2 separate regions of the Homo sapiens genome follow, and region 1 is linked to region 2. Evidence: promoter capture Hi-C in human tissues and cell types (Jung and others, 2019). All regions are on one chromosome and are shown on one strand. Each heading gives the region's core, a stretch centred on a gene start or on the middle of the fragment in contact. The rest is flanking DNA. Distances are from core to core; before and after follow the strand shown. Region 1 overlaps DNAH5 (dynein axonemal heavy chain 5). Region 2 holds the start of DNAH5 (dynein axonemal heavy chain 5).

Region 1 (6,742 bases), core at 1,464-3,963, 90 kb after region 2:
AGATAATTTGACTTCCTCTTTTCCTATTTGAATACCCTTTATTTCTTTCTCTTGCCTGATTGCCCTGGCCAGAACTACCAATACTATGTTGGATAGGAGTGGTGAGAGAGGGCATCCTTGTCTTGTGTCGGTTTTCAAAAGGAATGCTTCCAGCTTTTGCCTATTCAGTATGATATTGGCTGTGGATTTGTCATAAATCGCTCTTATTATTTTGAGTTGTGTTTCATCAATACTTAGTTTATTGAGAGTTTTTAGCATGAAAGGATGTTCAATTTTATCAAAGGCCTTTTCTGCATCTATTGAGATAATCATGTGGTTTTTTCATTGGTTCTGTTTATGTGAGGTATTATGTTTATTTGCATATGTTGAACCAGCGTTACATCCCAGGGATGAAGCTGACTTGATTGTGGTGGATAACCTTTTTAATGTGCTGTTTGATTCGGTTTGCTTGTATTTTATTGAAGATTTTTGCATTGATGTTCATAAGAGATATTGGCCTAAATTTTCTTTTTTTGTTGTGTCTCTGCCAGGTTTTGGTATGAGGATGATGCTGGCCTCATAAAATGAGTTAGGGAGGAGTCCCTCTTTTTCTATTGTTCGGAATAGTTTTAAGAGGAATGGTACCAGCTGCTCTTTGAACCTCTGGTAGAATTTCTAGAAGAAATTTATCCATTTCTTCTAGATTTTCTAGTTTATTTGTATAGAGGTGTTTATAGTATTCTCTGATGGCAGTTTGTATTTCTGTGGGATCAGTGGCGATATCCCCTTTATCATTTTTTATTGTATCTATTTGATTCTTCTCTCTTTTCTTCTTTAGTAGTCTGGCTAGCAGTCTATCTGTTTTGTTGATCTTTTCAAAAAACCAGCTCCTGGATTCATTGATTTTTTTGAAGGGTTTTTCATGTCTCTATCTCCTTCGGTTCTGCTCTGATCTTAGTTATGTCTTGTCTTCTGCTAGCTTTTGAATTTGTTTGCTCTTGATTCTCTAGTTCTTTTAATTGTGATGTTAGAGTGTTGATTTTAGATCTTTTCCACTTTCTCCTGTGGGCAGTTAGTGCTATAAATTTCCCTCTAAACAGTGCTTTAGCTGTGTCCCAGAAATTCTGGTATACTGTGTCTTTGTTCTCATTGGTTTCAAAGAACTTATTTATTTCTGCCTTAATTTCATTATTTACCCAGTAGGCATTCAGGAGCTGGTTGTTCAGTTTCCATGTAGTTGTGCAATTTTGAGTGAGTTTCTTAATCTTGAGTTCTAATTTGATTGCACTGTGGTCTGAGAGACTGTTTTTTATGATTTGCATTCTTTTGCATTTGCTGAGGAGTGTTTTACTTCCAATTATGTGGTCGATATTAGAATAAGTATGATGTGGTGCTGAGAAGATTGTATATTCTGTTGATTTGGGGTGGAGAGTTCTGTAGATGTCTGTTAGGTCCGCTTGGTCCAGAGCTGAGTTCAAGTCCTGAATATCCTTGTTAATTTTCTGTCACATTGATCTGACTAATATTGAGAGTGGGGTGTTAAAGTCTCCCACTATTGAAGAGTATGGGCATTAAAATGTAAGATTTATGGCCGGGCGCGGTGGCTCACGCCTGTAATCCCAGCACTTTGGGAGGCCGAGGCGGGCGGATCACGAGGTCAGGAGATCGAGACCATCCCGGCTAAAACGGTGAAACCCCGTCTCTACTAAAAATACAAAAAATTAGCCGGGCGTAGTGGCGGGCGCCTGTAGTCCCAGCTACTTGGGAGGCTGAGGCAGGAGAATGGCGTGAACCCGGGAGGCGGAGCTTGCAGTGAGCCGAGATCCCGCCACTGCACTCCAGCCTGGGCGACAGAGCGAGACTCCGTCTCAAAAAAAAAAAAAAAAAAAAAATGTAAGATTTATGATGAAAATCTATGTGGAGTGGTTCTTGTTAGTTTACTTTTCATATTGAGTGATGCATGAGGTAGGTGTTCAGAGTAATATTCTGCATCATAGTGAGAGAGAAGCATTTTTTATTTTACTTAAAATTAAGTTAAATGTAATTAAATTACTAGTGAATCATTTTACTGATTGTACTTTTATGCTATAAAATGCAGTACATTTGAAAATTTTTAGGTTATGTGTAAGCTTAATTTTGTAATTAAACATTTCTTTAACATGTTAAAAAAAGTCTCCCACTATTATTGTGTGGGATTCTAAGTCTCTTTGTAGGTCTCTAAGAACTTGCTTTATGAACCTGGGTGCTCCTGTTTCGGGTGCATATACATTTAGGATAGTTAGCTCTTCTCATTGCGTTGATCCCTTTACCATTATGTAATACCCTTCTTTGTCTTTTTTGATCTTTGTTGGTTTAAAGTCTGTCTTATCAGAGAGTAGGATTGCAACCCCTGCTTTTTCTTTGCTTTCCATTTGCTTGGTAAATATTCCTCTATCCCTTTATTTTGAGCCTATGTGTGTCTTTGCACGTGAGATGGGTCTCCTGAATACAGCACACTGATGGATCTTGACTCTATTAAATTTGCCAGTCTGTGTCTTTTAATTGGGGCATTTACCCCGTTTACATTTAAGGTTAATATTGTTATGTATGAATTTGATCCTGTCATTATGATGCTAGCTGGTTATTTTGTCCATTAGTTGATGCAGTTTCTTCATAATATCAATGGTCTTTACATTTTGGTTTGTTTTTGCAGTGGCTGGTTCTGGTTTTTCCTTTCTGTATTTAGTGCTTCCTTCAGGAGCTCTTGTAAGGCAGGCCTGGTGCTGACAAAGTCCCTCATCACTTGCTTGTCTTTAAAGGATTTTATTTCTCCTTCATTTATGAAGCTTAGTTTGGCTGGATATGAAATTCTGGGCTGAAAATTCTTTTAAGAATGTTGAATATTGGCCCCCACTCTCTTATGGCTTGTAGGGTTTCTGCAGAGAGATCCACTGTTAGTCTAATGGGCTTCCCTTTGTGGGTAACCCGACATTTCTCTCTGGCTGCCTTTAATATTTTTTCCTTCATTTCAACCTTGGTGAATCTGATGATTATGTGTTTTGGGGTTGCTCTTCTTGAGGAGAATCTTCATGGTGTTCTCTGTATTTCCTGAATTTGAATGTTGGCCTGTCTTGCTTGGTTGGGGAAGTTCTCCTGGATAATATCCTGAAGAGTGTTTTCTAACTTGGATCCATTCTCCCCATCACTTTTAGGTACATCGATCAAATGTAGGTTTGGTCTTTTCACATAGTCTCATATTTCTTGGAGGCTTTGTTCATTCCTTTTCATTATTTTTTCTCTAATCTTGTCTTCACGCTTTATTTCATTACATTGATCTTCAATCTCTGATATCCTTTCTTCTGCTTGATCAATTTGGGTATTGATACTTCTGTATGCTTCACGAAATTCTTGTGCTGTGTTTTTCAGTTCCATCAGGTCATTTATGTTCTTCTCTAAATTGGTTATTCTAGTTAGCAATTTCTCTAACCTTTTATCAAGGTTCTCAGCTTCCTTATATTGGGTTAGAACATGCTCCTTTAGCTTGGAGGAGTTTGTTATTACCCACCTTCTGAAGCCTACTTCTGTCAATTCGTCAAACTCATTCTCTGTCCAGTTTTGTTCCCTTGCTGGCGAGGAGTTGTTATCCTTTGGAGGAGAAGAGGCATTCTGGTTTTTGGAATTTTCAGTCTTTTTGTGCTGGTTTTTCCTCATCTTCGTGTATTTATCTACCATTGGTCTTTGCTGTTGGTGACCTTCGGATGGAGTTTTTGTGTGGTCGTCCTTTTAGTTGATGGTGATGCTATTGCTTCCTGTTTGTTAGTGTTCCTCTAACAGACAGGCCCGTCTTCTGCAGGTCTTCTGGAGTTTGCTGGGGTTCCAATCCAGACCCTGTTTGCCTGGGTATCACCAGCGGAGGCTGCAGAACAGCAAAGATTGCTGCCTGCTCCTTCCTCTGGAAGCTTTGTCTGAGAGGGGCACCTGCCAGATGTCAGCTGAAGCTCTCCTGTATGAGGTGTCTGTTGGCCCCTGCTGGGAAGTGTCTCCCTGTCAGGAAGCACGGGGTCAGGGACCCACTTGAGGAGGCAGTCTGTCCCTTAGCAGAGCTCGAGCCCTGTGCTGGGAGATCTGCTGCTCTCTTCAGAGCTGGCAGGCAGGAATGTTTAAGTCTTCTGACGCTGTACCCCACAGCTGCCCCTTCCCCCAGGCGCTCTGTCCCAGGGAGATGAGAGTTTTATCTATAAGCCTTGACTGAGGCTGCTGCCTTTTTTTCAGAGATGCCCTGCACAGAGAGGAGGAATCTAGAGAGGCAGTCTGGCTACAGCAGCTTTGTGGTGCTGCAGTGGGCTCTGCCCAGTCTGAACTTCTTTGCGGCTTTGTTAACACTGTGAGGGAAAAACCGCCTACTCAAGCCTCAGTAATGGTGGACCCCCCTCCCCCCACCAAGCTGGAGCATTCCCGGTCGACTTCAGACTGCTGTGCTGCCAGTGAGAATTTCAAGCCAGTGGATCTTAGCTTGCTGGGTTCTGTGGGGATGGGATCCACTGAGCAAGACCACCTGGCTACCTGGCTTCAGCCCCCTTTCCAGGGGAGTGAATGGTTCTGCCTCAGTGGCATCCCAGGTGCCACTAGGGTACGAAAAAAAAAATAAACTGGCTGGGCGTGGTGGCTCACGCCTGTAATCCCAGCAATTTGGGAGGCTGAGGTGGGCAGATTACCTGAGGTCGGGAGTTCGAGACCAGCCTGACCAACATGGAGAAACCCCATCTCTACTAAAAATACAAAATTAGCCAGGCATGGTGGCACATGCCTGTAATCCCAGCTTCTCAGGAGGCTGAGGCAGGAGAATCGCTTGAACCTGGGAGGCGGAGGTTGCAGTGAGCTGAGATCACACCGTTGCACTCCAGCCTGGGCAAAAAGAGCGAAACTCCATCACAGAAACAAAAAACAAAAAAAACTGCAGCTAGCTCAGTGTCTACCCAAACGGCCACCGAATTTTGTGCTTGAAACCCAGGCCCTTGTGGGGTAGGCACCTGAGGGAATCTCCTGGTCTGCAGATGGGGAAAGCATAGTATCTGGGCCAGATAGCAGTGTCCCTCACAGCATGGTACCTCATGGCTTCCCTTGGCTCGGGGGAGAGTTCCCCAAACCTTTTCACTTCTCAGGTGAGGCAACGCCCCACCCCGCTTCTACTTGCCCTCCGTGGGCTGCACCCACTGTCTGACCAGTCCCAATGAGATGAGCCAGGTACCTCAGCTGGAAATGCAGAAATAATCTGCCTTCTGTGTTGATCTTGCTGGGAGCTGCAGGGTGGAACTATTCCTATTCGGCCATCTTGCCCAGGATTCCCATGTTTTTCTTTTTAATGGATGAAGAAGAATCTAAAATTGGACTTAGAAATTTTCATGTAGAATATTTAAGGTGCTAGGTGTTGTTTCTTCCTTTCATATTTGATGGTATATACTCATTGGTGACATACAGAAAGCTTTAAAGAAGAAAATGAAAATTTGGGGCCGGGTGCAGTGGCTCATGCTTGTAATCCCAGCACTTTGGGAGGCTGAGGTGGGAAGACTGCTTGAGCCCAGGAGTTCAAGACCAGCCTGGGCAACATGATGAAACCCAGTTTCTACAAAAAATAAAAAAAATTTAGCTAGGCATGGTGGCACATGCCTGTAGTCCCAGATGCTGGAGAGGCTGAGGTAGGAGAATCACTTGAGCCCAGGAAATCAAGGCTGCAGTGAGCTGTGACCGAGCACCTGCACTCTGGCCTGGACAACAGAGTGAGACCTGTCTTAAAAAAGGAAGAAAATTTATATGATTCCTGCCCTCTCAAGATAATCTGTGCATTTTCCATTAAATTTTTTTACAATATTCCAGTTATACTGGAATTAATTTTGTATCTTTATTTTTAAATATTTTTTCTACATAAACAATCCAGTGCTCAATAGAGAAAATATAAAAATAGGAAATGTACTTCATTTAGAGATAACCTGTGAAAAGAAATGTGTGTACTTTCTTTTCATATTTCCTTGAATTGTATTATTACTTTTGTATTCATTTCTTGTTGTAACTTAACATAATGGGAGTACCAAGGTTGAGCTAAGGATGCTTACTTAATACAGGGGATGATATGGCACAGAAAGCCCAATAAGAACTTCAATAAAATGTGTGTGACATTAGGCATATATTGCTTGGATATCTGGACTGGTTAAAGCTCTAGCCTCAGCTGGAGGAATGTGAGATACTGTCTTTGGGATCACAGATGTGTCCAAATCTAAGTGTGCTTTGTTACCTTGTTCTCATAGGAAGCCAAGCGGTTTTCTAACATAGATAAATCTTGGGTGAAGATCATGACTCGGGCACATGAAGTGCCCAGTGTAGTCCAGTGCTGTGTTGGAGATGAGACCCTGGGGCAGCTGTTACCACACTTGCTGGACCAGTTGGAAATATGCCAGAAATCCCTTACTGGGTAAGTTCACTGGCTCTTTGAAAGCTCTCGGTATCCTTGAGACAAAAGGATACAGGGAGACTAGATAGCATTAGCCAAATTTGTTTTCTTTTGCTAAGGCTGAATTTATATATAAAGCTGTTGCACAGATGAAACTGATATTTTGAAGCCTTATATTCTCATCAAAGACTTGCTAGATTTGTCCTGATGTTGGACTCATAGGACTTAAGGTTGCTTCCATCACTGGGATAAGACTGTATAAACATCCTCATACAGTCCCTGCTTTAAAAAATTAATACACCTATTTTCTGACATTCTTCTTGAATAAACATTTATAGA
Region 2 (7,009 bases), core at 3,200-5,699:
AGTTATGATGATTCTTTACCCAAGCTGGGAAACATGGAATCCTCTCTGACAATGGTGTCCTTTTCTCTGTTACCGGTTGTCAAGTTCCATTGTTATTTGTGTGTGTTTTTTTTCTTTCTGGTGTGTTCTATCTGTTCTTTCTCATTCCTTCCTCAACCAGGATTTCTCTAGAGGAGTAGCTTAGGGGCAGCAATATATTGGACAGAGACAAGGAGACTTGCCCCTTTTATTCAGCTTGCGAGTTTATTCATTTTTAGGTTGTTTGGGTGACCACAGTTTCCACCTCCCTCTATTGAATTCTTTATTTCTTCATGCCCAGGAGACTGCCTTCAGTCTCTCTCTACTTCATCCTTACCGGCGTGCAGCTATAATACCAGCATAACCTTCCTAAACAAGACTTTCATTAATTCAGTGACTCCTTAATTGCCTGCAAGGCCCACTACCTTAGATTGACGCCCACCATTCAGCCTCAACATACCTTTCAGAGATTAATCAATCATTTTTACTTAAAATTGCAGCACAAGACGGGCTCTGTTGAATTCCAGTCTCCAAGATAATTTTTCACATATGTTACACTCTAGTTTTCCTATCTACTAATTTGAATCTTATTCTTCTATAGGGCTTGCCTTAAATTCTCCCTTCTCCAAAAGTTTCCTTTGATCATTAGAACTCACAAAACTGTATTCATCTGACCTAATCCATTATCAGATGAAACACATTACTGTGTCATTAACCACCAAGAAGGAAAAACACCTGTCCATTAAACTAGGCTTCATTGCTTTCTTAGAATTTCAATTTTATTTTAATTGAAGCTCTTTTAAACATCACCCCCATGCATCCATACAAAGATAAGTGCAATGAATTAGTTAAGAAACTTCTAAAACTTCTTCACATGTAGGGTCTGACTCTTCTGGGATTTTCTTCCAATCTACTAACATCCTTCCTGCAAGTTGCAGTGCTGGTGTTTTCTGGATCTTCCCAGAAGGTGACAGTGAAGATTTCTAGAAAACAACCGGGACACACATTTCTTCCTCACATGGAGCTTCTGTGGTTTGTTGGCTGTAACTTCCTGGTATTGTTGTGGCCTTGTGGTGCCACTTGGGTGACAGCTGGGTGTGCACAAGCTCTGGTAAGGACACTCATGTCATGATTTTTGTCTGGCCAACAGCAATTATAAGAGGGCATTGAATATAAGATGAAATATCATGTTGCATTTGGAATGACCACATTTCAATATGGTAAAGCGTGAAGACAAATGTGCAGCGCTTGATGGGTGAAATATGGAACTCTCTCATCCCACTGAACTCATTTGCCATTTTTATATGCTGTAGTTTGTATCATTGTTTACAAGGCTATTAAACTGATGAATGTGTTTGATCCTGTTGGGCCTCAGTAAGACATTCTTAAAGATGGAAATCCATGAAAAACGTGTAGCTAGTAACTGATAAAACTTGGATCCACTCTTTTGCTAGGACATACTCAGAAATTGAGAGCAAAATTTTCAACCAGCTCTCGACTGAAATGTGTGGGTTAGGTTAAGATTTAGGAATTCGTCCTCTCCATTGATATTGCCATAAATGGTAGTCATAACTCTTTTGCAGATAAAAAATGTGGTTATATATTTCATTTATTAGGTGCCTATGAGGATCTAGGAGATTTAAATATATTTAAATCATTACCAGTTTTAGGTAAGTGGTTTTATTTCTAACGTCTAATTTAGGAGACAAAATATCTGATGTCACATAGCTGGGATTTAAGTTCAGGTCTGTCTGACCCCAAAGTTGCACTTTTCTATTAAGCCATATGGAACGGGATGTACATACGAGGCTTCAAGATGCAGGGTAGATGACTCCATAATTTAGAGATGAGTTTAGAAAATTTTACACTTTGGAATGTAAGCGTAAAGGTAACAATTCAGAACATATGTCCACATAAAGCTTATACCTTATTTTCTTTTAAAATGACACTTATCAAAATTTGTAACATTTTACTTGTCATTATACATTTATTTATATATTTGCTTAATATCTACCCCCAGTAAAGGCAAGAATAACCATTTTTTATTGATTATGAAATGTACATTTTTCATATTTTAACATCTGTGAAATCAGAATGCACCTTAAAATGGATATGTTGAATAGGCAGCATTATTTTTTCATTCCGAGTGTTGCATAGGATAATTATGCATTCTACAATTAATATTTTTAAATGTCTGAGTAAACATCTGTTTTTATTAGCTGTTCTATTCATAGTGTATAGCGCAGCGTCTGGCTGCGTAAAAGGCACTCACGAGCTTTTGTTCAATGAATGAAAGTGGAACTTCAAACTTTGCCTGCAGGTACTTGGATTTCTGGATGAAGCCTTCCGCCCACATGAGGTCCATTGTCTACTCTTGTTTTCCCATTATGTCTGACAGGATTTGTGTATGACCAATATTTTCAGCCTGGAAGGGTGTACTATCCGCACAGACGGGGCTGCAGACCTCCCTCGTGTGAGTCCTATATATAGAGCCCTGCCAGCTGAAGCTCTTGCCTGGTGGAAACTATTTGTAGGCAAGCCTTTCTGAGTTTCCTACCGAACAATGTTTGATCATTTCCCTCCAAATGCCAGAAATTGACTTTCATTCTGGCAGGGGCTGGCGGGGGTAGGTGGCCTGTTGTAAATTCAGCCTTGGCTTGCTTTGTTTGTGTTGTTCAACAACTTCCAGTGAGCCTGAGCGCTCAAGAAGATACCTTAAGACGCCATCTACCTTGCCCGAGGGGTTGAAATTCAGCCACACAGACTGGAAGGCTTCCCGGTTTGCTGTGAAGCCTCAAGGGAGTCATGGTTATGCCTGCCAAACACAAAATGCATGCCATCAGCCATCTGTGGAAATCTTCCCAGGAAGTAACTCTCCCCAAGCGATGCGTTGTAAATGGGCTGCTGCTGCAATGAGGATGGTGCCTAAAATACCATTAGGGAAGCACCGATTCAAATGTAACTAATGAAAGATAATCGGCGATGTAATGAATTGTAACATGTTTGTCCTGAGGTCATGTGTTGACAGAGGATTCTTGGGATGGATAGGAGATGCCATGTGAGGAGGATCCGATCCTACTGCTATTTTCTGGTGTCTTCAGCACCACACAGAGAAGGGACTCAGAGTCTAGATACTGTCTTCAACACTTTTTATTAGAAACGGACAACAGCCGCTTACCAACAACCAGAGGTTGACTTCAACAAATATCCTGCAGGGCCTGGCCTGGTGGCTCATGCGTATAATCCCAGCACTTTGGGAGGCCGAGGTGGGCAATTGCTTGAGGCCAGGAGTTTGAGACCAGCCTGGGCAATGTGGCCAAACCTGTTTCTACAAAAAATACAAAAATTAGCCGCGTGTTGTGACACTTGCCTGTAGTCCCAGTTACTAGGAAGGCTGAGGTGGGAGGATCACCTGAGCCTGGGAGGTTGAGGCTGTGGTGAGTGGTGGTCACGCAACTGCACTCCAGCCTGTGTGACAGAGTGAGACCTGCAGGTCTCAAAAAAGAAAAAAAAAATCCTGCAAACAAACTTAAACTTCCTGTGTTCTAGTTATTTACTTACCAAATAATATTGAGGTCTAAATGTTGTCTGTTAACCTGACATATGGAGGCCGTCCGTGCCCTAGCATTGGATATGGACCAAGTGAATCTCCATGTTCTGAAACCATGTCAGCACCCTGCCTTCCAAGTCAGGCTCCACAGAGGTTGACTAGCAGGATGTTACCAGGATGAGTTCCCAATTTCCTGATTATCCTTGGATGACCTTTTAGGATTTGAGTTGCTGGACTGTGAATTCCAAGGACTAAATTCTAGATTCAACAAGACCAACCTTAAGTGTCCTGCCTTTTATTCAACTCGATGGGAGAAACCATACATGAGAGATCTCTCAAAGCATTTGGCAGTGTTTTCCCATTACATCTTCACAGTTAAGATGATCAAGATGTTTAGCCACATAGGATAAATTACCTTGGCTGAAGTGTATGTGCAACTGTGTGAGCACAAGTAATTTATGGACATGGTTTGCTATTTGCATATGAAACAGACTTCTTGTTCTTTGTGGTGGAGAAAATGGCTCCTATGGGTCACAATTAGCCTATCTGGCAATTAGTCACAATTAGTCACAATGCTGGCAGTGCATCGTGCTTGCAAAGTTGTTTACACAAAGTAAGACTGAGTTTCTCGACATGGACAATATATTCAGAGCTGTGGCTTCTTGGATTTCTAATCTGATATGGTTTAAAGTTTCTCATTGTTCAAAGAAACTATTTAGATATCACTGTTGACTCAATGCTTATTATTGGGCAGTGAATAGAATTAATTGAACAACAGAAGGAGTTGTGTTGCTACCGAGCAGTTAAAATGCTTTGATTGCTTGATAAACATGATTAAGAGGCATGGTTCAACTGTATAGTGTATAAACAATATTACCCTAACAACACCAGGCTTCGAGAGAGAGGAGAGGCCCAGGGCAGACACTCTAGGAGAAAAACTTGAGTGGTATAAGTGGAGTTTTAATTTTTATTCTGTGAATGTAGTGAATAATACATGCAAATTAGAAACGTGAAAGTAAAATGGAAGTAAAACTTTCCATTTGGAAGCCTGTTGGATGTTGAGCAGGTCTGCCAGGAGTTAGAAGACCATTCCGGAAGAGCTGACTCCAGCCTGTCCATGCACGGCTACAATGTTTAGGATTGGGAGGAGACAGCTCTGGAAGCATAGCGTCACTCGAGTTTTAACGGTAAGGTGCTGTTGTCTGTACCTTTGCATGTGTGTTTTGGATTATCATCTGTCACACCTGGGTGGAAAAAACAAACTTGAAAAAGGTTCAAAGTCACACACTGATGAATTTGCGAGAAACACATTTTTTAACTAATGTTCACCTGGTGCATAGGCTACATATTCATTTTTTAAATAAAAAAAATTTTGCATCTGTAGGCTTTTCTGCACGTTGCCGCTTAAACTACGCACCTAGAAATTCATGCTGCATCTTTTGGGAAGATGCTTTCCTGGGGTCAAAAACACATTCATAGTGGTTTGGGCACTTTGTATTCTTTCAAACCTGTAAACTTTAGTTGGTGATTAGAAATAGTTAAGGCAGATTCTAGGCTGCAAGGTTTAGGCTTTGAAATCACTCCCCTGTTCTATATGCCTGCAAATGAGGTCACAGACAGTGAGATGCAAGGCTGTGCCTTTGGAAATCACATTGAAGAATGAACTTCCCTAGCACAGGGCTCAGCTCAGCAGCTTTTTATTATGCAAATGCATAGAGAGGGATTTGGAAACCTCTTCCACTGCCAATTAACGTCAGAAGAAATTGGAGGTTTCTCTAGGACTCAGTTCTCAACCATTAACCCATGCTTCCTACTGGGCTTGATCACTGTGTCTTTTTGTGTATCCCCAGAAGCTCACATGATCCCCCCTAGCCTGTTGTTTTTACCACAAAAGAGCAGGCATCTACCTCTGAATTTTTTAAGTATGCCACCATCTGCCACCCCTCACTTGCCCAAGCCACAAGATTCTGATGCATCCTTCCCAAGGTGAACGTCTTGCAGCCAAGCCCCTGAACTTGCTTGCTAGAGTTAGAAGACCATTCTGGAAGAGCTGACTCCAGCCAGTCCATGCACTGCTTATTCTTCAAGACCAAGTGCTAGTGTTACCTCCTCTGAGAAGCGTCCCCTGACACTTTGAGGAGGAGGTGTGAGTTTCCTTCCTGTACCCTGTCAGCACTTTCCTTCGATGTCTTATAGAGTCCTTGTCACATCACTGTAGTGAAATGACATTTACCCACATGTCTCTTTCTCTTGCTAGATTGCGAGTTCTCTCCATTTTAAAATAATCTTCCTTTAACACAGAGCTTGGTCCATAGTATATGCTTGGTCCTTAATATATGCTTGTGGAATAAGTTGAATGAATTAAACATTTCACATGTCTGAACATTTTTCCTGTGCTTCAGTACCAAGTCTGAAACACCACAATTGATGATAAAATCTCAGGTATAATTAATGAATTATTCTTCCTTGACATGAACTATGTTTTGAGAGTAAGTCAAGTCTTTTGGAGGTTTCAATTATATATTTAGGATGCTGGTTTGGTTCACTCCACTGAAGTATAATATTAACAGAATTACCTTAATAGTATTGCAGTGTATTATGTAAATAATTACACAGTTTCTACTTAGTGCACTGTGTTAAAGAAAAAAAATTATTCAGTGACACTTGGTAAAGCATGGTAAAGTAAGACTTTATTCACGACCGTCGTGTTAGGTATAAGGACCTATCTGGGGAGTGATGGGAGAGATTGGGCTCAACTGTGAATATGGCATGGCCAAGTGAGGATTTGTAGCCAAGGAGCAGGGCAGGGGTCAGTGGATAGGAAAGTGCTTAGAGGAGACATCAATGGGGAGGGGGATTCTGGCTAAACTGACGACCTACCAGGATTCTTGCTGAAGAAAGGCCAGGGGGATGAGACAGCACGTGGGGGATGGTGGAGGATGAGGAACCCAATCAGCGACTGACGGTGATCAGATATTGAGTACCCTCTACAGGGGTTCTTGTTAACTGACTTAGCAGAGTTCTTTGCTAAAACTAGATTTTACAAGGAAGTGTACAGATGGGCCTAGGAGAAGATTCAGGAACCTGACTAAAGTTTGGCCAAGCAAGGAAAGTTTGTCAACTGATAAGATAGCTTATTATATTATAACTTCATGATCGAAAATGACCAATGGGAAACATTCCAGAGCTACCTAACTATAAGTATGTATGTATTTAACTACAAGTCCATATATATTTAACTAAGTTCCACGCTAAGGTCTGGAACTATTATTGCAATGATGCTATGTTATAATTAGGCTACTGTAATGTAATAATTGACTTTATCCATAAATATCATGCCAGTAACAACCAAATGTACCATAAACAAAGTCAAGCCATATATCTTTTCTCTTGTATAATAAACACACGTTATTTTCATTTAAAAACTTGAAATTATTCTGT

Evidence for each region. Contacts are between HindIII fragments. The study calls those that stand out against the background at their distance.
Region 1: a fragment that was not itself captured here is called in contact with the fragment with the promoter of DNAH5 in region 2 in 2 of the 25 tissues and cell types used here (small bowel and stomach).

Annotation. Positions count from the first base shown.
Region 1 is chr5:13,850,334-13,857,075 of GRCh38, reverse strand. It overlaps DNAH5 (dynein axonemal heavy chain 5), which reads left to right. Exons shown (of 79, transcript NM_001369.3): 31 at 6,261-6,424. Among named protein-coding and RNA genes, the nearest start is that of DNAH5-AS1, 6.7 kb to the left of the region's middle. The HindIII fragment of the contact is 3,933 bases long and covers 747-4,679 here.
Region 2 is chr5:13,942,128-13,949,136 of GRCh38, reverse strand. DNAH5 (dynein axonemal heavy chain 5) reads left to right here and starts at 4,449. Exons shown (of 79, transcript NM_001369.3): 1 at 4,449-4,755. The coding sequence starts at 4,699. The HindIII fragment of the contact is 17,200 bases long and covers 98-7,009 here.